Linked DNA regions of Homo sapiens: all the other regions are linked to region 1. Evidence: promoter capture Hi-C in human tissues and cell types (Jung and others, 2019). All regions are on one chromosome and are shown on one strand. Each heading gives the region's core, a stretch centred on a gene start or on the middle of the fragment in contact. The rest is flanking DNA. Distances are from core to core; before and after follow the strand shown. Region 1 holds the start of MYL5 (myosin light chain 5). Region 2 has its middle 90 kb from the start of ZNF732. Region 3 overlaps LOC105374343 (a long non-coding RNA gene). Region 4 overlaps ZNF141 (zinc finger protein 141). Region 5 overlaps ZNF141 (zinc finger protein 141). Region 6 has its middle 39 kb from the start of MIR571.

The links. Contacts are between HindIII fragments. The study calls those that stand out against the background at their distance.
Region 2: a contact is called between a fragment that was not itself captured here and the fragment with the promoter of MYL5 in region 1, in 1 of the 25 tissues and cell types used here (dorsolateral prefrontal cortex).
Region 3: a contact is called between a fragment that was not itself captured here and the fragment with the promoter of MYL5 in region 1, in 1 of the 25 tissues and cell types used here (IMR-90 fibroblasts).
Region 4: a contact is called between a fragment that was not itself captured here and the fragment with the promoter of MYL5 in region 1, in 1 of the 25 tissues and cell types used here (lymphoblastoid cells).
Region 5: a contact is called between a fragment that was not itself captured here and the fragment with the promoter of MYL5 in region 1, in 1 of the 25 tissues and cell types used here (lymphoblastoid cells).
Region 6: a fragment that was not itself captured here is called in contact with the fragment with the promoter of MYL5 in region 1 in 2 of the 25 tissues and cell types used here (dorsolateral prefrontal cortex and lymphoblastoid cells).

What each region holds. Positions count from the first base shown.
Region 1 is chr4:672,376-676,336 of GRCh38, forward strand. MYL5 (myosin light chain 5) reads left to right here and starts at 2,167. Exons shown (of 9, transcript NM_002477.2): 1 at 2,167-2,308; 2 at 3,698-3,834. It overlaps ATP5ME (ATP synthase membrane subunit e), which reads right to left and starts at 1,901. Exons shown (of 4, transcript NM_007100.4): 1 at 1,837-1,901; 2 at 1,537-1,591; 3 at 928-1,026; 4 at 61-144. The coding sequence starts at 1,872. The coding sequence ends at 125. RefSeq lists enhancers at 2,033-2,790, 2,668-2,737 and a silencer at 2,188-2,457. The HindIII fragment of the contact is 2,744 bases long and covers 1-2,440 here.
Region 2 is chr4:213,478-217,438 of GRCh38, forward strand. It overlaps the pseudogene ZNF876P. Among named protein-coding and RNA genes, the nearest start is that of ZNF732, 90 kb to the right of the region's middle. The HindIII fragment of the contact is 3,201 bases long and covers 699-3,899 here.
Region 3 is chr4:1,039,216-1,043,176 of GRCh38, forward strand. All of the region lies in intron 1 of LOC105374343 (a long non-coding RNA gene), which reads left to right. Among named protein-coding and RNA genes, the nearest start is that of FGFRL1, 30 kb to the left of the region's middle. RefSeq lists an enhancer at 1-595 and silencers at 2,125-2,323, 2,704-2,885. The HindIII fragment of the contact is 9,265 bases long and covers 1-3,961 here.
Region 4 is chr4:352,106-356,066 of GRCh38, forward strand. All of the region lies in intron 3 of ZNF141 (zinc finger protein 141), which reads left to right. Among named protein-coding and RNA genes, the nearest start is that of MIR571, 3.9 kb to the left of the region's middle. The HindIII fragment of the contact is 3,181 bases long and covers 458-3,638 here.
Region 5 is chr4:368,824-372,784 of GRCh38, forward strand. It overlaps ZNF141 (zinc finger protein 141), which reads left to right. Exons shown (of 4, transcript NM_003441.4): 4 at 3,841-3,961. Among named protein-coding and RNA genes, the nearest start is that of MIR571, 21 kb to the left of the region's middle. The HindIII fragment of the contact is 3,666 bases long and covers 60-3,725 here.
Region 6 is chr4:386,885-390,845 of GRCh38, forward strand. No RefSeq gene overlaps it. Among named protein-coding and RNA genes, the nearest start is that of MIR571, 39 kb to the left of the region's middle. The HindIII fragment of the contact is 3,449 bases long and covers 90-3,538 here.

The sequences.
Region 1 (3,961 bases), core at 917-3,416:
GGTGGACAGAACTTCAACCTAGGAATTCCACAACCAGCGACAGCAAATGAGGAGCCGGAGTATCACACAACACAGGAAGCTTTATTCATCCGCTGCTGGTCCAAAGAGTGGGTCGCAGGGTCACTCACTTTAATATGCTGTCATCTTGGGCCGGAAGGTTAGAAGAAAAGCACATGTTACCACTCAGGCAACCTAAAAAGACCACTTCAGCTTCCCAGTTATTTTTTTTTTTTTTTTTTTTGTTTTGAGACGGAGTCTCGCTCTGTCACCCAATGGCGCAATCTCAGCTCACTGCAACCTCTGCATCCCAGGTTAAAGCGATTCTCCCACCTCAGCCTTCTGAGTAGCTGGGATTACATGCACCCGCCATCATGCCTGGCTAATTTTTTTTAGACAGAATTTCACTTTGCTGCTCAGGCTGGAGTGCAGTGGCGTGATCTCAGCTCACTGCAACCTCCGCCTCCCGGGTTCAAGCAATTCTCATGCCTCAGCTTTCTGAGTAGCTGGGATTACAGGTGCCTGCCACCATGCCCGGCTGATTTTTTGTATTTTAGTAGAAATGGGGTTTCACCATCTTGCCCAGGCTGGTCTCGAACTCCAGAGCTCAGGCAATCTGCCTGTCTCAGCCTCCCAAAGTGCTAGGATTACAGGCATGAGCCACCGCACCGGGCCATGCCCGGCTAATTTTTGTAGAGACAGGGTTGCACCATGTTGGTCAGGCTGGTCTTGAACTCCTAACCTCAGGTGATCTGCCCGCCTTGGCCTCCCAAAGTGCTGGGATACAGGCATGAGCCACCACGCCTGGCCAGCTTCCCCATTTTTAAACAATCCGCATCTACTTAGCTCTGCTTAAATGTCCTCCTCCATTTTCCTTATCCCTGCACAAACCTGGGAGGGACAATCTATAAGAGCCAGTGTCACTCGTACCTTCTGCCAATTCTCTGGCAATCCGTTTCAGTTCATCCTGCTTCTTCTTCTCTTCTGCTGCTATCCTCCTCTCCTCTTCTGCCCGAGGTTTTAGGTAATCTGTTTGGCGGAATGCAGGAGAATAAAATTCACTGGAAATGCTGTACAAAAGGAACTGAGTCCACAGGTCAAGGTATCTTCAGCGACGCTGTAAACCAGACGCACCTGCTGTTCCCGCTCTTTATGTTAATGCGAGTCAACGCCTGACCTTCACCCTGACGAGTCCAACCCAGAGGCTACAGGGCCCCTGCTGCCCACCCGCTCACGCACTGGCTCACTCGTCCTCTGCGAACAGGGACTGCCTCCCATCAAGACCTCAGCACTCGAACAGCCATTTAGCACCCGTTTTCACCAAGAAGCAGCCGTTTTCGAGTCCCCCGCCCGGGCCTCAGAAGCCTGAGCTTTGGGTGAGCTGATTCCACTATCGGGGTCACGCTCGGTGGAGGACACGGTCCTGCAGCCTCGCATGCGTCCCAAGCCCCCTTCCAGAGCTGGAGTTCTCCAAATAGCACAGGAGCTCCACAGGAAAGCCGAGCAGACCCCGCCCCGGCCCCGCCCGCGGTCACTCACTGTAGCGCGTGGCTCCGTAGGCCACACCGAGGAACAGGGCGGAGTAGCGGCCGAGCTGCGAAAGAGGTTGGTCAGAGGCGGCGCGAAACGGGGCTCGCGGGACGGGGGTCGCGGGAGGAGGGGGGGCGGGGTCGCTGGGCAGAGGTCGCAGGAGGGGTGGGGGTCCGGTCGCCGGGCGAGGGTCACGGGGCGAGGATCATGGGGGCGGGGGCCGGGGGTCGCAGCCCGCGGGGTCGGAGCTGCGGGGCGGGACACGGGGGGGCCCAGAGCACTGGGCGGCGGCTGCAAAGCCTGGATCACCTTGATGAGCGGAGAGACCTGCACCGGTGGCACCATCTTGTCCCTGACCTCCGCACCGGAAGCACAACCTGCAGACGGAGCAGGATGCCGCACAAGCCAGCAAAGCCTTGGAGGCAAAGGCGGAGCTGGGCGCACGCATGCGCCGTCAGCGGCGAGAGAGCGGGGGGCCGCGCCCCCTGGCGACCGAAGGGTGACTGCGCGCCCCCGCGCGGCGGTGACGTCACGTGAGGCGCACGCGCACAAAGGCTGGGGAGTGCGCGGAGGATCATCGGCTGCGCCTGCGCAGTTGCTGCGTGAGGCGGGATCTGCGCCGAGTGGGCGGGGGGTTTCCTTTCCCCGCAGGGCTGGGGGTCCGCTGTTTCCCCGCGCTGCTGCCGAGGCCCCGCCGTCCGCGTCCTGGCCGTGTGTCCACACCCCAGACTGCGGGCCGGGGCGCACTCTGTCTTCTTGCGCGGAGCGTCGGAGGCCTGAGGTCAGGGCGGCTCGGGCGGGTCCAGCCCCGCGGACCGCGCCCACCCGAGGGTGGCCTGGGCAGGGACCTGGGGGTCCTGGGAGCGGAGTGTGAGCCGAGTGCAGGTGGCTCCCCGGGCAGGTCCTTCTCCTACAAGGCAGTAGTGTCTGTCGCCGGCCGGGCCGCGTTGGATTCCGCGGCCCGCGGGAGCATGGCCTCCAGGCCCCTCTTCCTGCGGCTGCTCTGCCCGGGAGCACGGGGCGCCCTTCATCCCGGAGCTGGAGCTTCCTCACCCCAGGATGCCCCATCACTTCTGTCCCGAAGAGGGGCTGGGATCTTCTTGGGAAGACCAGCCCCCAACAGAGGCTGCTCCCTGGGTCCCCCGACTCCAGGCCTCAGGACTCCACGGCTCCAAGGGCCTGCCCCGGCCCAGGCCTGGGGACCACTGAGCCCCACACTGGTCTTTGCTGGCCTCTGTCCACCTCCCGGTAGCTGTGTGTCTCCCACAGCTGCCCAGAGATGGGGCCTGCGGTGCCTATGCAGCCTCCCCGCTGTGCCCGAAGTGCTGACCCGCCAGCCCCATGGACACCAGGCTTGGAGTCTAGGCAGGAGCCTGGCACCCCCTCCACGTTCTGGGTCTTCCTGGCGGCAGCCATGCTGCCCGTGCTGGGCCACCCTCGGGCCCCCTTTGGCCCCATGCAGTAGTGACGCAAGGCCTCCTGTGTCCCCTCCTGGCCCTGCACTGCTACAGGCAGAAGCAACTGGAGAACTATGGCTCGGGTCTCGCTAAGGTGCAGCATCACAAACTCCAGGACTCTTGAAGCAAGCATGGGGAGGACCCGTGATCCTGGCGGCCTGGGCTACCTGTCCGGGCCTAAGTCGCCTCTGCCCCCTCTCCTGGCTTGCTCTGGGGTCCAGGGCCTGGGCCTCTCTGGCTGAGAAACTAGGAAGTCACTGGGCTCTGTTTCCTGAGCTGGGTATACCAAGGCCAGTCCTATAGGGCAGGGGTCCCCAACCCCCAGGTGCAGACCAGTACCAGCTTGTGGCCCGTTAGGAACCGGGCAGCACAGGACGAGGTGAGGGAGCATGATTGCCCGAGCTCCACCCACTTTCAGATCAGCCTGGGCATCAGATTCCCATAGGAGCGTGAACCCTACTGTGAGCTGCGCACTTGGATCTGGATTGCGCTCTGGTGAGAATCTAATGCCTGATGAACTGAGGTGGAATAGTTTCATCCCGAAACCTTCCTCCCCAACACGGAAAAACTGTCCTCCGTGAAACCTGTCCCAGGCGCCAAAAAGGTTAGGTACTTGCTGTAGGGCCACCTGATCTTTTCTCCAGCTTCTGTGAGGTTGGCTGGCAGTCCCTGAAGACTCCTGCCTGAGGCCTCTGCCTGAACCCTGTCCTCAGGGGGCCAGAAGCAAACTCCAGCCCTCCCCGTGTCTACTGCTCGCTGAGGAAGCCGCAGGTGCACACTGGATCCACAAGGCACAGAACCATCTTGGCCCTCGGCAAGCCCCCGCTTCCGCCAGGGCAGACGGCCTCAGGTGACAATGGGTTTTCCCTTCACTGGAGTTTAAAATAATCCAGACTCCTCAGCAACTCCTGCTTCCAGAATCAAAAATAAGTGTCTCTGGGGCCCAAGGTAGGGGGTGAGGGGGACATACCAGCAGC
Region 2 (3,961 bases), core at 1,049-3,548, 460 kb before region 1:
CGCCCCTGGTTTGTAGACAGGTGTTCAGAAATGAAGACGGGTGTCCAGAGGCAGGGACTGGCGTCTGCAGGAGGGCAGCTGTAGGAAGAGCGCTGAGCTTGTGGGGTCAGCACTGACTCTGGGTAGTGTCATTAGTGAGTTGCTGGACACCCCGTTGGGGTTGGAGCATTGACTGGTGTTGAGGAAACTCCGCAAGTTTTTTTGTCAGAAGAAAGACATGGCTGAGCCTGGGCTGGGGGGAGTCGCAGGTGTCCGCGGGAGACCTGACCGGGTTCTGCACATGCACTGTCCTGCTGCGCACTGTCCTGTTCCTCCAGGTCTCCTCCCGGGTAGAGAGGGCACTGAGAACTTGGAGGAAAGGAGTTCTGAGAAACATCCCTTCCCCGCACCCTGCTGCCGGCTGCCACCCAATGCTAACCCGCTCCTGAGCACGCCCACTGGGCATTCGCATGGCCACACGCGTCCTAGGACAGGGTTCTACCCTCAGGAATTGTGGCCATGGCAGCTTTGCTCCTACAGTTTTCTCCTAAGAATACACACAGTGCCCAGAAGACTCCACGCTCATCTCAACCCCAGATCTGCAGCAGGAATCTGTTTTCTTCACCTACCCAGGCTTCTGGACCACCTGATCCTAATCTCCTCTGCCTTTATGGACTCAGGAATCAGTCAGAGCGTAGTCTTGCCTGGGCCTGTACCTGTAGCACAAACCAGTCCTTTCATCAATCCTGCCCTGCCCCCACCCAAGGCTCTTGATAGCTCCTTTCTCTCTTATGCTCTTTTCTTACCCACAAATCCTCTTTCCTGTGCACACAGTTTGCTCAAGTGCATCCCTCATGTGCTACAAGAATTCAGATGTTAGTGAGTTCAAGACCATGCCTTTAGACTTGCCTGTTGTAGGACCAAATACAAATTAGAAGAGGCTTAATGCTTTCTCTTTAGAATGAGGGAAGAATTTTTGCTCTTCTCCCTTTTCTTAAAGCATTTAGTTTGAAAACTTTTATATTTAAACATTTTCTCTGCTTCTTTGAAAAATATGTAAATCATTTTTGTCAGTTAACTAGGTCATTTGTCTTTTTTGACTCAAAACTGTCTTTAGGACCTGGGAACTATTGCTAGGAAATGCGAATAGCAAGAATATACACCCTATGCCACAGTTTCTGTAGGCGAGTAGGAGGCTGCCTTCAGCAGGTACCTGGCTCCACATTTCAAAACTATGTCCTATCATGAAGATATGGGAAGTGTTTGTTTTTTTGTTGTTGTTTGTTTTTAATATTACCAATTAGAAAACCCAGATGACCTCCCAAATTAGTTGACGTTATTATAAACTGTGTATGACAAATGGTGCTGTCATGTCTTGTACTTGAGTACTAACGGTGACGTTCTTTCTGTATTTGCAATCTATTAGTAGATTGCCTGTGATGTACATCATATTTTGGTTTAATTAAATAACAAATCATTATCTTGCTCTAATATTATTTTGGAGAGTATTTTAGGATTGGAGATGATTTTGCTTTTAGTTATATTTTCCAAACACTGTCCAGAATTACCAGATGGTATACACAAAGTGCCCACCAGGCTTCCCTTTAGAGAAAACCTTCCTTCTAAGGATTCCAGCCACAATCCACAATTTTGTGGCAAAGTGCAGCAAAGTGCTCCACAAATCTGCAAACAAAAAGGTTTCTCTATTTGGGATCTACAGTCATTTCTAGAGCAGTTAGACTATATTTCTACAAAAATAACTTTTCAGGACAGCCATCAGTTATTCCACTTCCGTGTGTGCTCCTGGCATCTTCAGATCTGACACTGGTTCAGACATCATGGGGCCCATACACCCAACCAGGATCACACATGTGCATTGATTAAACCTGATAACTTCAATTCTGTCCCTTCTCCCCTTGCCCAAATGCCCACAAATGTCCATAGCTCACCAGCCCTCCAGGACCTAAATGTGCAGTTCCAAATTCTGAATTTATGTCCTGGGATTTGAGAGAAAAACAGCACTTTTATCTGAGAAATACAAGTTCTTTTAATTATCAGACCCAGAGACTTGTTAAAATGAGACCACAGTCCTACTGTTCCCCTCTTTGAACTATTTGTTTTTTGAAATTCCTTGCTATTGCCATCAGTGGCTATAAAGTAACCTAATAATACCACAATGGACACTATAACCCACACTCTGTGGCTTAACATATATAGCCAGCCACTAACCAATTTTAATTCTATAAATCAATAGGAATGTCTAACAACTTTGTATCAGTCTCCTCTCTGCCTTCTTTTTTGCCTTTAAAAATACACTTGTAACTGCTTCTAATTGGAGTGTATATTCAGGGCAGCTATATACCCCAAGGTTGCAATCTTCAAGCTTTGGCCCAAATAAACTCTCTACTTATTTACCCCAGCTTTTTCCTTTTAGGTCGAAATATTCTTCAGAATGTGTTGAAGGAGCCTCCATGAGAGGCTCTCTCTGGTTTTACTCTGTTTGCTGTAATCCCCAAGAATGCAGAGGCGCATTGATCCCACCTAGCATCTGCACATAAAAGCTGGCTTCTGCCTAGGAGTCACAAGACAGGGCCAGATTTTGGGTTGAAGACATACAGAAAACTCACAGAAGGCATTTTCTGCATCATGAAAAGTCAACATAGTCTTCTTAAACCCCACTTTCAGAGTGGAGTCTTTGAGTTTTCCAGGTCTTGTCACCTGTGTGAGAGGCTTCTGGTGTGAACAGAATCCTGTGGCAGAATCTGTAGGTGTTAACACGCACCTTAGCAGTGAGAGGTCAGGGCCACAAAATATACAGAGCCATAATCACAACCATAATCACAAGTATGCCATCCTGTATACTGGGGTACTGGAGTACTTTCATCTTTCCTCTTGTCTCAGAGTTAGCTGATCAGGGACAGTGCACATCACATCTGGATCCAGGATCTGCAGCTCTACCAGGGCAGTTCTGTTTTCTGTTTGCACTCCACAAAGTCAGCCTCAGTCTCTCCTGCCTGGATCACTATGGGGGGCTTCAGCCCAGGGTCACTGAGGACACTCTCACCAGCATCAGTGAGTTATTTGAGACATTTGAGGATGTCCAAAGCAGACTGGGGTCAGTCTGACAAGAAAGTCTAATTCTGGTTCCATTTCAGAGAAAGAGAAATGACTTATCAAGGGTTTGTTCCTCCCCTCACAGAAAGAATCTCATTGGTTCATAACCAGATAAGAGTTGTTCCAGTTTTCTGGTTCTGGAGACTCAAACTGATTAATAAGCTAATTGCTTCTATTTTATATGGTCATTAGAAAAAGAGACGAAGCAGTTGTGGTCCCTCCCATCAAGGAACTTGCAGTCCAGAGCACATGAATAAATGGTTGAATTCAGCATCATGTGTTCAGTACAGAGACAGAAACTGCATAGGAAGCTTAAGCTTCATTTGCATTACTTCCCTTTTGTTATTTTGTAAGTTTTGATCCCTCCACCTGAAGGGCTATTCTGGACAGAAGAGAAGTTGTTATTATTTGTATTGTTTTTAGCTTGCTAAGAATAAGTATTTAGCTTCTAATATAATTGGTCTAGAAAAACATAAGGGTTTTGGTTAAATTCCTTCTTATTGTATGTTGTAATATAGACAGGGAAGTGTCTAAAATAGATTAAAATTACACAAACTCTGGGAATAAAATCTCTCTTGGGCAGGCTTAGGAAAAACAAAACTGAAAATATTTAGTGGCCTAGAGAGCAGAAGCCTAGGACCCACCTTCTATCCCAACCCTGCCCAGATCCACCCTCTGCTGAATCTTGTCCAGGTCTAATCCACACTGAAATCTCTCACAGAACTGCTTAGAGGAGATAAGAGTTTGGGGTGGCTACTCCTACTGCCTCTCCAGAGCTGGTGCTCCCAATTTCCTGAAACACAAAAGCAGATAAATGGGGAAAATCCTAGGAATTACGGGACACTTAGTACCCATCTCCCAGGATGTT
Region 3 (3,961 bases), core at 1,034-3,533, 370 kb after region 1:
CAGCCCCTCTGAGGCGGGAAGGTCACAGCGGCTGTCCCAGCTGCCCCAGGAGTGTGGGAGCAACGGGGTCCCACCATGTCGGGTAGCACCTGGGCCCACAGACCCCAGAGGCAACCTCACTCCTGCTGGCTTCGTCCAGGGTGTGTCGGCCATGGGGGCCCCGTGGAGGGGAAGGGTCTGCCCTGTGGTTGCCGGGTTCTCTGTGGCACCTGGGGGGCAGAGGGGCCTGGCTGTATGAGGCCAAGCGGCCCTTGATTTGATTGAACACCCCTGAGACAGAGCCTACCCAGCCATGGCGGGGGGTCTTCAGGGCCTTCTGCCTGCCCCTTGCGCCCTTGTCTGCCCTGGGCAGCTGCCCTCAGCCTCTCCTGCACACTGGTCTGAAGGCTTCAGGTGTGTGGGGGGGTGGCGGGTGCTGGGCCGGGGCCGCAGGAGCTGGCCAGGCTTGGCCCTGAGTAAAGCCCTGGCCCAGGCGTGGCGGTGGTGGTGGGGGCGGGCCTCTGTGTGAGCGGGAGTGGTTCTGGGCTCATGTTACATTTTCCACTGGAAAAACAGCCCCATTTTGAATGTTGGCTCTGAGCGTTTTAAAAATTGCAAATATATCCAGTTTCCCAAACGAGTGCTCACCAGGCCAATGTGGTTGTTCCTGCCGGCCCTGTGGAGGGTGGGCACCCGGCCCAGTGGGAGTGAGGGGCTGGGGGCCTTGGGAGGGGAGGGTTGGTGCTGCAGTTCTGGGGAGCAGCCCTGTTGTCACAGCCTAGGGACACTGGGCCCCTGCCACCTAGATGGGCAACTGGGGCCCAAGCCCAGGTCCAGGGAGGTGGGGAAACTGAGGTCCTTGTGGCCTGGAGCCTGTGGGCCTGTCACTGAGGAACCCTCGGTCCTGAAATGGGCAGCACCTGGCCATGGCAGGCTGCAGCCCACACCGTGGTCAGGGAGCCTGGCTGTAGGAGGCCTCATCTCCCAGGTGTGCCCAGGTTCTGCATTCCTGCCGCTCCCTCAGGCACCTCCCCAGCCTGGCAGGGCCTCACTGGCAGGAGGCGAGGGAGCCCGGTGCAGACACAGGCTTCCGGGCTCTGAGTCCTGACTTGGGTCTGAGGCTTCACGATCCCTTTTCTGCAAAGGTGTCACCTGGTGCTGTAGTTGTGTGTGGGGCTGGGGTTTCGTGTGTGTGTGTGTACATGTGCATGAGTGGGGATGTACACGTGTACTGGGGTTTCCATGCACGTGCGTCTGTGCACACTTGAGCAAGTGCACATGTGGGTGCTCTGTGTGTGTGCATGGCGTGTGCGTTCGTGTGTGTGTGTGTGTGTGGATGGCGTGTGTGTTCTCGTGTGTGTGTCCCTCACTTCCCTACTGCCTAGGGTCAGGGCAGTGCTCAGGGTCCTAGCACCCCTTGAACAATGGGGTGACCAGGACTGCAGAGGGGCACGTGGCAAGGGGGTCCCAGGCTGCCTCCGTCTGTCCACCCAGGCAGGGTGGGCTGCGGAGGGTGCTGGCAGGCAGGCTCCTGGTTGGCCTAGTGCCCCTGGGGAGCAGGCTCAGAGGTGCCGTGCACTCTTCCCACTGTGCTAAAGCTTTGGGGCCTGTAAGGATGTTCCTGCCATGCCAGGCCCCTCCCCAAGCTGGGGTCAGGGCCCGTGCCCACTGCCCGGCACAGGCCTCCCGCTGGCTGGCTGCTCTCCTTGGAGGGCAGAGAGCATTCTTCAGAGTGGCATGGTTGCCAGACCAAATGACAAAAGTGCCCACTGGGTAGACCGGAGACCCCAGGCTGGCAGCCCGGCTGCACCCCCAGTTTCACAGGAGGCACTTTAACGCCAAAAACATCTGGAAATTGTTCCAAGGACTGGATTCCAGCCTTCGCCTTTGGAAGCTCAGCTGCCCCTGTGGAGGGTGGGAGGGCCGCTGGTTCCACAGGGCTGGAGCTGGGGCCATGAGTTCCATGAGCAATTCGGCCTCATGGGTGGCAGGCCCACGGCCACCGCAGGGCTGGCGGCACCCGCTCCCCTCCTGCTGCTCCCGCCTGCTGGCGCTGGCCACTCGAGCCGCCGTGCCTCTGAGTGTGGCCCCTCCGATGGCCAGTCTTGAGGTGGTGAGGGTGGTCATTCTAGAACTGTGTGTGCATGTGTGTGTGTCGGTGCACATGTGTGCATGTAGGTGTGTGTGTGTGTGTGCTTAGCTGAGGCTGCACCCCCCGGGGGGAGGCGCTGGCGAGTGCACACACACACACACACACACACACACCCCTGCATGTGTGTGCTGGCGCCTGTCAGCTCCTCCCCCGGAGGTGCAGCCTCAGCTAAGCCACCTCCCCCAGCCCCACCGGAGCAGGCGAGGAGCCACGGAGGGACCTCAGGGGGTGACCCCAGCCCCTGGGGGTCATGTGAATGGGGCTCCACCCAGGCCAGGAATCCGGCAGCACTTTTGTTCCTTTTCACAAAAGGCGAGCACGACGCCCCGTCTTGCTCACCGCTCAGTGAGCGTTACAAACGTTTGCCAACACGCACCTCCCTCTGCGCTGCCTGGCTGCAGCCAGCCAGGAGTGTCCGTCGGCTTCCACAGCTCCACTCTGCAAAGAAAACAAACCCAACAGCAAGGATGTTCTCCTTGAATGCTCTGGGCCGTGCTCTCGAATCAGCAGCCAGCCTGTCCTCAAAGGGGTCTTGGCTCAGAAACATCCTATCGTGCATCGTTTTCTGCCAAGTTTCAGTCTAAGATGTAAAAGTGGAGAAACCAGAAGCACTGCAAGTGAAAATAGAATAAAGGGAGACATCCCGTGTGGGAGCAAAGTAAGAGAAGCAACCAGCACAGCGGGCAGGAGGGACACTGGTGCCGCCACACCCGAAGGAGCCGGGTATCCACACTCCCGCAAGCCCTACCTCCCCTGGGGGCCCCCACCCACCAGGCCACACTCCCCTGCTGGCAGGAAACATGGAGTCAGGACCAAGTCACCTGCACCTGGGGCCATAAGGAGCTGAGCAGCCACCAAAGACCACCGTCCTCCAAACCGTTCTCCAAGTCCAGGGTCCTGCTGCTCTCCTCAACTCCCTCAGCCTCCCCAAATACTGAGTCTGAGAGTGCCCCCCAGCAGGGACTGGGCAGAAGTTTACACACACACACACAGACACACCCACCCCCACACACCAACACACAGACAAATATACACCCACCCCCACCCAACCCCCACCAACCCACTTCCACACCTACACCCACACATGCACACACGCACATCTACACATGCACACCCACACACACACCGACACACACACCGACACACACACCTCCACATACACCCCCGCACACTGACACACCCACACACACACCGACACACACACCTCCACAAACACACCCCCCGCACACTGACACACACCCACCCCCACACACTGACACATCCACCCCCCACACCGACACACACCTACAGTGACACCCGCACACTGACACACACCCACTCCTGCACACTGACACCCACTCCTGCACACTGACACACACCCCCGCACAGACACACACCCACCCCCGCACACCGATACACACACCTACCCACACACCCACCCCACACACCAACACACACCCACCCATCCCCGCACACCGACACACAACCCACCCCCGCACACTGACACACACCCACCCACTCACCTCTGCACACTGACACACACCCACCCCACCGACACACACCCCTGCACACTGACACACCCACCCACCCCCACACTGACACACACACACCTACCCACACACCCACCCCCGCAGACACACACACACCGACCCCCACACACTGACACACACACATCTGCACAAGACACCCACCCACCCACCCCTGCACACTGACACACACATGCACACCCCCAACCCCTGCACACTGACACACACACACCCACACACCCACACCCACACACTGACACACACACCCACCACCGCACACCTACCCACACACGCGTACCCACCCACCCCCGCACACAACACACAT
Region 4 (3,961 bases), core at 798-3,297, 320 kb before region 1:
GGCCAGGCATGGTGGCTCACGCCTGTAATCCCAGCACTTTGGGAGGCCGAGACGGGCATATCAGGAGGTCAAGAGATGGAGACAATCCTGGCCAACATGGTGAAACCCCATCTCTACTAAAAATACAAAAAATTAGCCGGGCGTGGTGGTGGGCACCTGTAGTCCCAGCTACTCAGAAGGCTGAGGCAGGAGAATCACTTGAACCCGGGAGGCGGAGGCTGCAGTGAGCCAAGACTATACCACTGCGCTCCAGCCTGGTGACAGAGCGAGACTCCGTCTCAAAAAAAAAGAGGAAGGTGGGAGAGGGAGAAGGCAGAATGGAGAATGGCAAAATCAGATTCAGGATTGGAGAATGTTTCACCCTGAAGTCAGCCTGTTCTTGGGAGGGGCATCAAGAGGGGTTGTATGCTAGCTCAGACTGAAGGTGGAGCAGAGTCCAGGGGCCTGGGGGAATGTAGAGTTTGTGAATTTGTGATATCTAAGAGGGAGCATCTTCAAAATCATAGTGAAAAGGGTATTTCTTTGCAATAAGCGTTTCTTGCGGATCACAAAGGATTGGAGAGACCTTAGTCATAGCTATTTACCAAGATTCACTACCCACCTCATCTTTTCCCCCACTTTCCTTTGTCCTATACATTTTTTCCCTTTGGCTTTTACTGAGCTGTATTCAATATAATAACCTGGAAAACATATAAATCGTTTTTGCTAAGTTCTGTGAGTAGTTTTATCAAATTATTAAATTTGAGGGAGGGAGTTAGGGAAGCCCATGATTTATAGTCAGTTGCTCAGAAGTGTAGGTGGGCCCCTGGAGTTTGTGACTGGCATGTGCAGCGGAAGCAGTGTTGTGGAACTGGGTCTGAACTTGTGGGGTCTGTGCTGACCCTGGGTGTTGTCAGAATTGAGTTGTTGGGCACCCAGTTTGTGTTGGAGGATTGGTTGGTGTTCAGCAAACTCCATATATTTGGTGTTGGAATAAAGATAATCAGGCTGGATGTGGTGGCTCACGCCTGTAATCCTAGCACTTTGGAAGGACGAGGAGTGCAGATGGCTTGAGGTCAGGAATTCAGCACCAGCCTGGGCAACCTGGTGAAATCCCACCTCTACCAAAAATACAGAAAGTTAGCCAGGCATGGTGGCACGAACTTGTATTCCCAGCTACTTGGGGGACTGAGTCTGGAGGATTGCTTGAACCCTCAGAGGTCAAGGCTGCTGTGACCTGAGATCATGCCAGTGCACTCCAGCCTGAGTGACAAAGTGAGACCCTGTCTAAAAAAAAAAAAAATCACAGCAGACTTGGTCAGAAGGAGATGGTGGGTCTGTTGAAGAATGGAGAGTTTATTAATTTATTATTATTATTATTATTTTTTTTTTTTTGGAGACAGAGTCTCACTCTCGTCCAGGCTGGAGTGCAGTGGCGAGATCTCGGCTCACTGCAACCTCCACCTCCTGAATTCAAGTGATTTTCCTGCCTCAGCCTCTCAAGTAGCTGGGACTACAGGTGTGTGCCACCATGCCTGGCTAATTTTTTGTATTTTTAGTAGAGACGAGGTTTCACCATGTTGGCCAGGCTAGTCTGGAACTCCTGACCTCAGGTGATCCCTCCACCTTGGCCTCCCAAAATGCTAGGATTACAAGCATGAGCCACCACTCCCCGCTGAGAGTTTTACTTCTTTTGCACACAAGTTGTCACAGTTAGGTGTAATGTGATTCTACGTCTCCTCCATAGGGGACTGAGGACTTAAAGGGAAGGACTTCTGAGGGCAGACTCTTCTCTCCACCTGCTGCTACAATGTGATTTCTGCTCATTCACACACATGCACGCTAAGCAATGGTATGGCCGTGCTTCTCTCATGACAAAGCTTCACTCAGGAATTGTGCTGAGAGCACCTCTGCTTCTAGGGTTTTCCACTAATAGGCTACATAAGTGCCCAGAAGACTCATGGGCTCTTTCTACCTGCCAGATCTTGAATCTGCACCAGTAACCTGTTTTCTCCAGTAGAATAGGCTTCTGGATCACCTGACCATCTCATCTCCCTGTATGCACACATTTATAAGTCAGAGGTGCCCTGCCTGGGTGAATATCTAGAGCACTAACCAGTCCTTTTACCAACTGTGCACTGATCCTCACCCATGGTTCTTGATAGCACCTTTTCTTATTCTGCATTTTCCCCCCACAGACCCTCTCTCATGTGAACACAGCATGCCCAAGGTCACCCTGCAGGTGCCTAAGTCCAGGGCCTGCTGGAAATCAGGTTTCTATGAGTTCAAGGCAAAGTTTTTGGGTGTGGTTATTGTAAATGTAAATGCAAAATAGAAATAAGAGGCTTAATCCTCACATTGGAAAATAAAGAGTATTTACTCTCCTCCCTTTTCTTAAAACCTTTGATTTAGAAAACTTTTATATGTAAATTCTTTCTGTGCCTTTTATCTTTTTTGTTGTCTTTTAATTCTCTAATTTGTTTCTGGTCTGATTTTTGTTATTTTGTTTATTATGCTAACATTGGGATTATTTAGTTATTTTTCAAGTTTTTGAGGATTAAAGTTGGTTTATTTGAGATTTTTAAAATATAAAATATATTACTATAAAATTCCCAGAACTGCTTTTGTTACATTCATTTTTATATATTATGATTCTATTTTCATTTTTCTCAAATACTTTATGATTTCCTTTTACCTTCTTTGACCCATTGGTTGTTCAGAAGCATGTTGTTTAATATCCATTTATTTGTAAGTTTTAAAATTTCCTTCCGGTGTTGATTTCTAGTTTTATAAAATTGTGATTTAAAAACTTGATATGATTTCAGTCTGTTTAAAAATGAAAAGACTTGTTTATTTTTGTTGTGGGCCAGATTTATGACAGGTCTTGGAGAGTGTTCCATGTGTGTTTGAGAAGAATATAAATTATACTGTTACTATCATATTTGTTTTTTTCTCCAGTTTAGTTAACATATGTTTATATATTTGTGTGCTCCAATATTGGATACATAAATATTTTTAATCGTTATATTCTTTTGACAAATTAGCCTCATCACTATATAATGAAGTTTTTTTAATGACGAATTTTTTTCTTTATTTTATTTTATTTATTTATTTATTTATTTTTTGAGACAGTCTCACTCCGTCACCCAGGCTGGAGTGCAGTGGTGCAATCTTGGTTCACCACAACCTCGGTTCACCACAACCTCTGCCTCCCAGGTTCAAGCAATTCACCTGCCTCAGCCTCCCTAGTAGCTGGGATTACAGGTGCCCACCATCACGTCTGGCTAATTTTTGTATTTTTAGTAGAGACAGGGTTTCACCATGTTGGCCAGGCTGGTCTCGAACTCCTGATTGCAGGTGATTCTGCTGCCTGGGCCTCCCAAAGTGTTGGGATTACAGGTATGAGCCATCGTGCCCAGCTATGACAGATTTTTTTCTAGATGTCTATTTAGTCTCATATAAATATAGGCATTCCTACACTTTTTAAGTTATTATTGGCATGGAATATTCTTTTCATTTTTGAATCGTTAACCTATGTATTTCCTTAAATCTACAGTAAGTCTCTAGTTTGCAGCATATTGTTGATTTTTAAAATCGATTCAGACATTCTGTGAATGTTTTAGATTGTTTTTTGCTTAATAACAATATTCTAGGGTTGGTAATTTATAAAGAATAGAAGTTTACTTAGCTCACAATCCTGGATGCTGAGATGTCCGAGAGCATGTCATTCCCACCTCATGAGAATCACATTTCCACATCACAACATGACCAAAGTCTTGAGGATGATGGAAGGTGTACACCAGAGCTCACTTTTGTAATAGACCCACTCTCATGATGACTAACGCACTCTTAGAATTATAATACTAGGCTGGGCACAGTGGCTTACACCTGTAATCCCGGCACTTTGGGAGGCTGAGGCGGGTGGATCACAGGTCACGAGTTTGAGACCAGCCTGGCCAAGATAGTGAAACCCCCATCTCTA
Region 5 (3,961 bases), core at 643-3,142, 300 kb before region 1:
TCTTTTTGAAGATTGTTGAGTGCTTCATTGTTTCTTGAAATTCCATATAATTTGGGGGTTGCTGTTTCTTTTTCTGGAAGAATTTAATTAGAAATTTGACAGGGATTGCATTTAATCTGGAGATTGCATTAAGGAATTTAGACATCTTCTTTTTAGGCAAAATTGTTTTATACTGCTTTCAAGTCTTCTATTCCTTTATGAATATTCTGTCTTGTTTCATTATTCATTATAGAAATTGGGGTATTGAAATATCCTACTACAATTACATTGCTCCCTATATCTTGCTTTAATTCTGTCAGTATTTGCTTTGTATATTTTGAACCCTAGTGTAAGATACACACACACACACACACTCACACACACACATTAATATATGTATACCCACATTTATCATGGGTTCTAAGTAAATGAACTTGTTTATTATTGTTTAATGTCTTCCTTTGCCCCTTATGAGCTTTTAGTTAAAGTATATTTTATGAAATAGAGTTTTTGACTTAAGATGTACTTTGTGTTATATAACTTGGACCTGTTCTCCTCTTATTTGGTTATTTCCATGAAATGTCTTCTTTCATCTTGCCTTTTTCAGTCTCCTTTAATCATTAGACCTCAAGTGACTCTTGTAGAAAAACAAGTTGGATCTTGTTTTTTAATTTTTGCAATCAGTCCCTTTATTTGGTGCATGTATTTTGAATGGAAAGTTTACTTCATAAATATTTGAATAATTTGCTGAAATAGAAAGGCTTACCTGTTTTATAAATTGTTTTACTGGATTATTTTATCTCTGTCCCTTATTTTCTTTTTCTGTCTTCCTGTTTGTCTTTTAGATTTTTGTGTTGATAGGACTTTACTTCTTATACTTTTGTGTATCTATACCTTTGTGGTATCTTGGGAATTCTGAAAAATTTCTTAAAGAGATATATATATATATATATATATATATATTTTTTTTTTTTTTTTTTTTGAGAGGGAGTCTCACTGTGTCGCCCAGGCTGAAGTGCAATGGCATGATCTCAGCTCACTGCAACTTCTGCCTCTTGGGTTCAAGCGATTCTCCTGCCTCAGCCTCCTGAGTAGCTGGGACTACAGGCACACGCCACCATGCCCAGCTAATTTTTGTATTTTTAGTAGAGACGGGGTTTCACCATGTTGGCCAGGATGATCTCGATCTCCTGACCTCGTGATCCACCTGCCTCAGCCGCTCAAAGTGCTGGGATCACAGGCATGAGCCACTGGGCCTGGCCAAAATAATATATTTTAAACTCTTAAAAATGTAACTTGAATTGCATTTGAAAATTCTTCCTCTTTACATCTGCCCTGAATGTTGTTATTGATGTCACTAATCATATTTTTTTGCTGTATATTTATTACCAGATTATGATGAATAGTTTATAATCATTTTTATGCTTTTATCCTTTAAATTTTAGAGAAAAACTTTTTTGCACTATTATAATGATACAGAACTTTATATTTGTGTTTGTGCATATGTTTTTCAGAAAGTTATGTATTTTCATATCATCATATTTTTTTTCTTGCATCCTGTTATTTTCAATGGAAGATAGTTCAGCATTTTTTTTTATAAGGCAGGTGTTGTGCTAATATACTTTTCAGCATTTGGTTATCTTGAAAGGCCTTTACTTTTTCTTCATTTTTAGGACTGTTTTACTGGTTATATTATTCCTACTTAGAAGCTATTTTTCCTTCAGCACGTTAACTATATCGCAACTTTCTCTTGTCTGAAAAAATGTTGACAGATTCACTTGTTATCTTATAAGAGCATACTTACAAATCACACATCACTTTTATCTTGCCGCTTCTAAGATTCCATTTTTGCCTTTGACTTTTAAAACTTTGCTTATTATGTGCTTTGTTATAAATCTCCTTGTATATCCTAGTTGAAGTTTGTTGAGCTCCTTCTTTTTTTTTTGAAATGAAAGTCTTGCTCTGTTGCCCAGGCTGGAATGCAGTGGCACAATCTTGGCTCACTGCAAGCTCCGCCTCCCAGGTTCACACCATTCTCCTGCCTCAGCCTCCCGCATAGCTGGGACTACAGGTGCCCACCACCACGCCCAGCTAATTTTTTTTGTATTTTTAGTAGAGACAGGGTTTCACCGTGTTAGCCAGGATGGTCTCACTCTCCTGACCTCCTGATCCACCAGCCTCGGCCTCTCAAAGTGCTGGGATTACAGGCATGAGCCACCATGCCTGGCCACATCTTTTTTTAACTTTTGAAAATTTCTCAGGCATTATTTTTGTATTTTTCACCTCCATGTTTTTTATATTTTTAATGTTTTCATTTATATATATATATATATTTTAATTATATTTAGTTTTGTTACCATTTAGCTCATTGAGTTTTATTCAGGTCAAATTTTAAAACTTTGTACATCTTCATTTTTAATTTTTGTTCTGGAATTTTTTTTTTTTTTGAGATGGAGTCTCATTCTGTCACCCAGGCTGGAGTGCAATGGTGCAATCTTGGCTCACTGCAACCTCCACCTCCCGGGTTCAAGCAATTCTCCTGCCTCAGCCTTCCGAGTAGCTGGGACTACAGGCATGGGCCACCATGCCCAGCACATTTTTGTAGTTTTAGTAGAGACAGAGTTTCACCATTTGGGCCAGGATGTTTTCAATCTCTTGACCTCGTGATCTGCCCTCCTCGGCCTCCCAAAGTGCTGGGATTACAGGCATGAGCCACCATGCCTCACCTTTTGTGATAATTTGTGTGTGTGTGTGTGTGTCAGAGTCTCGCTGTGTCTCCCAGGCTGGAGTGCAGTGGCATGATCTCGGCTCACTGCAAGCTTTGCCTCCTGTGTTTACGCCATTCTCCTGCCTCAGCCTCCCGCATAGCTAGGACTACAGGCACCCATCACCACGTCTGGCTAGTTTTTTTGTATTTTTAGTAGGGACGGTGATTCACCATGTTAGCCAAGATGGTCTCTATCTCCTGACCTCGTGATCCACCCGCCTCAGCCTCCCAAAGTGCTGGGATTACAGGTGTGAGCCACCATGCCCGTTCCCTTTTCTGAAAATTTTTAAATTGTTGGACTGTGTTGTTCTAATATTTTGTATACATTGTCATGTTTGGTTGTTATTTGTACATTAACAAAAAGCTATTTGTCACAATCTTTACAATGTAGCTTTTTCCTGACATAGTCTGAAACCAATTGTCCTTGATAGAGATTATGGTAACCTCTCATACATGTTCTAAGGATGTGTCCTCTCTGGAATTTTGTGTTTATTTTTCAGTTAAAAGGGTTTGTTCATGTTTCTTCTTAACAGTCTCTAATCACTTGTTCTACGTGTTGCCTGTATTTAGCACTGCAGTCTGCTCCTGAAACATTTACATTTGCTTTCAGCAGACCCAATCCCTCCCAAAGTGTATCACCATTTCTATCAGCACTCTGTGGTATTGGAGACAGAAACCAGGTTTTGTAAAGACACTCAAAAGCCAGAAGTAAGGATATGTGTATCAGTATTTTTCTTCTCTTTAAAGGAAGAAGCCAGGAGTTGATACTTCACTCCTAATGGCACAGTGCTATATTGGGGAGGAGGAAGAGCTGTTGGTGGGTAAATGTAACAAACATTCCTTCCTGTTCTATGTGGCTCTTGGCATTTTGCTTACCTGAGGCATTGCATACAATTAACTCATTTATAGATTTCACAGAAAGGTGTCTTTGTTAGTATATGTTTGCTACATGTATATGTCTGTGAAGAAGTTATGGCCTGTGGGATTTTGTTATGCCATCTTACTAATGTATTTTGAATAATTTCATAAGATTTGTAAAGTATATTTATATGAATCTACTAAGTGGGATAATTTGTAATTTTTATTTCTTTCAGCTATGTGTTCTCATTTCACCCAAGACCATTGGCCAGTGCAGGGCATAGAAGATTCATTCCACAAACTTATACTGAGAAGATATGAGAAATGTGGACATGATAATTTACAATTAAGAAAAGG
Region 6 (3,961 bases), core at 564-3,063, 290 kb before region 1:
ATCTTTTAGAATATGCTAGTGTGGGCGCGCACAGCGCTTCGCTGAGTTCTGTGAGTAGTTCTGCCATATTATTGAACTTGAGGAGGGTGTGGGCGCCCCTGGTTTGTAGGCGGGAGTTCAGAAATGAAGACGGGTGTCCAGAGGCAGGGACCGGTGCCTGCAGGGGGGCAACTGCGAGAAGAGCGCTGAGCTTGTGGGGTCTGCGCTGACTCTGGGTGGCGTCTTTAGTGAGTTGCTGGACACCGCTTTGGGGTTGGAGCATTGACTGGTGTTGAGCAAACTCCTCACGTTTTCTGTCAGAAGAAAGACAGGGCTGAGCCTGGGCTGGAGGGAGTAGCATGGTGTCTGCGGGAGGCGTGACTGGGTTCTGCACATGCGCAGTCCTGCTGGGCCCTGTCCTGTTCCTCCAGGTCTCCTCCGAGGGAGAGAGGGGACTGGAAACTTAGAGGAAAGGAGTTCTGAGAAACATCCTTCCTCACACCATGCTGCCAGCCCCCACCCAATGCTAACCCACTCCTGAGCCCACCCACTGGGCATTGGCATGGCCACACTCCTTCCAGGATAGGTTTCTACCCTCAGAAATTGTGCCCAATGGCAGCTTTGCTCCTACAGTTTTCTCCCAAGAACACACAAAGTGCCCAGAAGACTCCTGGCTCATCTCAACCCCAGATGTGTAGCAGGAATCTGCTTTCTTCACCACCCAGTCTTCTAGACCACCTGATCCTAATCTCCTCTGCCCTTATGGACTCAGGAATCAGTCAGAGTGTAGCCCTGCGTCGGCCTGCACTTATAGTACAAACCAGTGCTTTAGTCAGTCCTGCCTTGCCCCCACCCAAGGCTCTTGATGGCACCTTCCTCTCTTCTGCTCTTTCCTTCCCCACAAATCCTCTTTCCTGTGTTCACAGTGTGCCCAAGTCCATCCCTCAGGTGCCTACAAGAATTCAGACGTTAGTAAGTTCAAGACCATGCCTTTAGAACAGGCTGTTGTAGGACCAAATACAAATTAGAAGCTTAATGCTTTCTCTTTAGAGTGTGGGAAGAATTTTTGCTCTTCTCCCTTTTCTTAAAGCATTTAATTTGAAAACTTTTATATTTAAATATTTTCTCTGCTTCTTTGAAAAATATATAAATCATTTTTATCAGTTAACTAGGTCATTTGTCTTTTTCGACTGAAAATTGTCTTTATCTAGGATCTGGAAACTATTGTCTTGAAATGTAAATCGCAAGAGTCTATACACCCTATGCCACAGTTTTTGTAGGAAAGTAGGGGGCTGCCTTCAGCAGGTACCTGGCTCAACATTTCAAAACTACGTCTTACCATGAAGATGTGGGAAGTTTTTTTGTTGCTGTTGAATGTTACCAATTAGAAAACCCTGCTGGGACTACAGGCGCCCAGGTGACCTCTCAAATTACTAGGTGACATAAACTGTGTATGACAAATGGTGCTGTCATGTCTTGTACTTGAGAACTAATTACGGTGATGTTCTTTCTGTATTTGCAATCTATTAGTTGATTGCCTGTGATGCATATCATAGTTTGGTATAATTAAATAACAGAACATTTTCTTGCTGTTCTGTTATTGTGGGGAGTATTTTAGGATTAGAGATGATTTTGCTTTTAGTTATAGTTACCACACTGTTCAGAATTACCAGATTTATACATAAAGTGCCCACTAGGCCTCACTTGAGAGAAAACCTTTTTTCTAAGGATTCCAGTCACAATCCACAATTTTGTGGCAAAGTGCACAAAGTGTAGCAAAGTGCTCCTCAAAGCTGCAAAAAAAAAACAGCCGGGTGCAGTGGCTCACACCTTTAATCCCAGCACTTTGGGAGGCTGAGGTGGCCAGATCACGAGGTCAGGAGATTGAGACCATCCTGGCTAACACCGTGAAACCCTGCCTCTACTAAAAATATAAAAAATTAGCTGGGCGTGGTGGCAGGCACCTGTAGTCTCAGCTACAGGGGAGGCTGAGACAGGAGAATGGCATGAACCCGGGAGGCGGAGACTGCAGTGAGCCAAGGTCGCGAGACTGCACTCCAGCCTGGGCAAGTGCTGGTGAGAGTGAGACACCATCTCAAAAAAAAAAAAAATCTCTCTATTTGGGATCTCTATTTGGGAACAGTCACTTCTAAAGCAGTTAGACTAGATTTCTACAAAAATAACTTCTCAGGACAGCAATCAGTTATTCCATTTCTTTTAGCGCTCCTGGCATCTTTAGATCTGACACTGGTTCAGACATCATGGGGTCCATAAACCCAACCAGGATCACATAAGTGCATTAATTAAACCAGAGAACTTCAATTCTCTCTCTTCTCCCCTTGCCCAAATGCCCACAAATGTGCATAGCTTACCAGCCTTCCAAGACCTAAATGTGCAGTTCCAAATTCTAAATTAATATCCTGGGATTTGAGAAGAAAACGGCACTTTTGTCTGAGAAATACAAGTTCTTTTAATTATCAGACCCAGAGATTTGTTAAAATGAGACCGCAGTCCTACTTTTCCCCACGTTGAACTATTTATTTTTTGAAATTCCTTGCTATTGCTACCAGTGGCTATAAATTAACCTAATAATACCACAATGGACACTATAATGCACACCCTATGGCTTAACATATATATAGCCAGACACTAACCAGTGTTACTTCTATAAACCAATAGGAATGTCTGAGAACTTTCTATCAGTCCCCTCTCTGCCTTCTTTTTTGCCTTTAAAAATACACTTGTAACTGCTTCTAATTGGAGTGTATGTTCAGGGCAGCTTTATACTCCGGGCTTGCAGTCTTCAAGCTTTGGCCCAAATAAACTCTCTAGTTATGTTTACCCCAGCTTTTTCCTTTTAGGTCAAAATATTCTTCAGAATGTGTTGAAGGAGCCTCCATGAGAGGATCTCTCTGGTTTTACTCTGTTTGCTGTAATCCCCAAGAATGCAGAGGCACATTGATTCTGAGAGGAGAGACCCTCTCATATTGTTTTATATTGTTTCATACTCAGTAAAAACAACAAGGAAGTAAAATCAAAGACAGGCAGCCCGGCGCCAGGCCTCAGCCTGCCTGGCCTAAACCCAGTAGTTAAAAATCAACTTATGAATTAGAAGCCGATGTTATTCATAGATTCCAAACATTGTATAGAAGAACATTGTGAAACTCCCTGCCCTGTTCTGTTTGTTCCTGATCACCGGTGCATGCAGCCCCTGTCACATACCCCTTGCTTGCTCAAATCAATCACGACCCTTTCATGTGAAATCTTTGGTGTTGTGAACCCTTAGAAGGGACAGAAATTGTGCACTCAGGAAGCTCGGATTTTGAGACAGTAGCTGGCTGATGCTCCCAGCTGAATAAAGCCCTTCCTTCTACAACTCGGTGTCCGAGAGATTTTGTCTGTGGCTCGTCCTGCTACAATTCCACCTAGAATCTGCACATAAAAGCTGGCTTCTGCCTAGGATTCACAAGATAGTGCCAGACTTTGGGTTGAAGACATACAGAAAACTCACAGAAGGCATTTTCTGCATCATGAGAGGTCAACATAGACATCTTAAACCACACTTTCAGAGTGGAGCCCTTTGAGTTTTCCAGATCTTGTCTAGTCACCTGGTACAACTATGTGAGAGGCTTCTGGTGTGAACAGAATCCTGTGGCAGAATCTGTAAGTGTAAACAAGCACCTTAGCAGTGGGAGGTCAGGTCCACAAAATATCCAGAGCCATAATCACAACCATAATCACTAGTCTGCCATCCTGTATACTGTGGTACTGGAGTACTTTTATCTTTCCTCTTGTCTCAGAGTTAGCTGATCAGGGACAGTGCATATGACATCTGGATCCAGGATCTGCAGCTCTACCAGGGCAGTTCTGTTTTCCGTTTGCACTCCACAAAGTTAGCCTGAGTCTCTCCTGCCTGGATCACTATGGGGGCTTCAGCCCAGGGTCACTGAGGACACTCTCACCAGCATCAGTGAGTTATTTG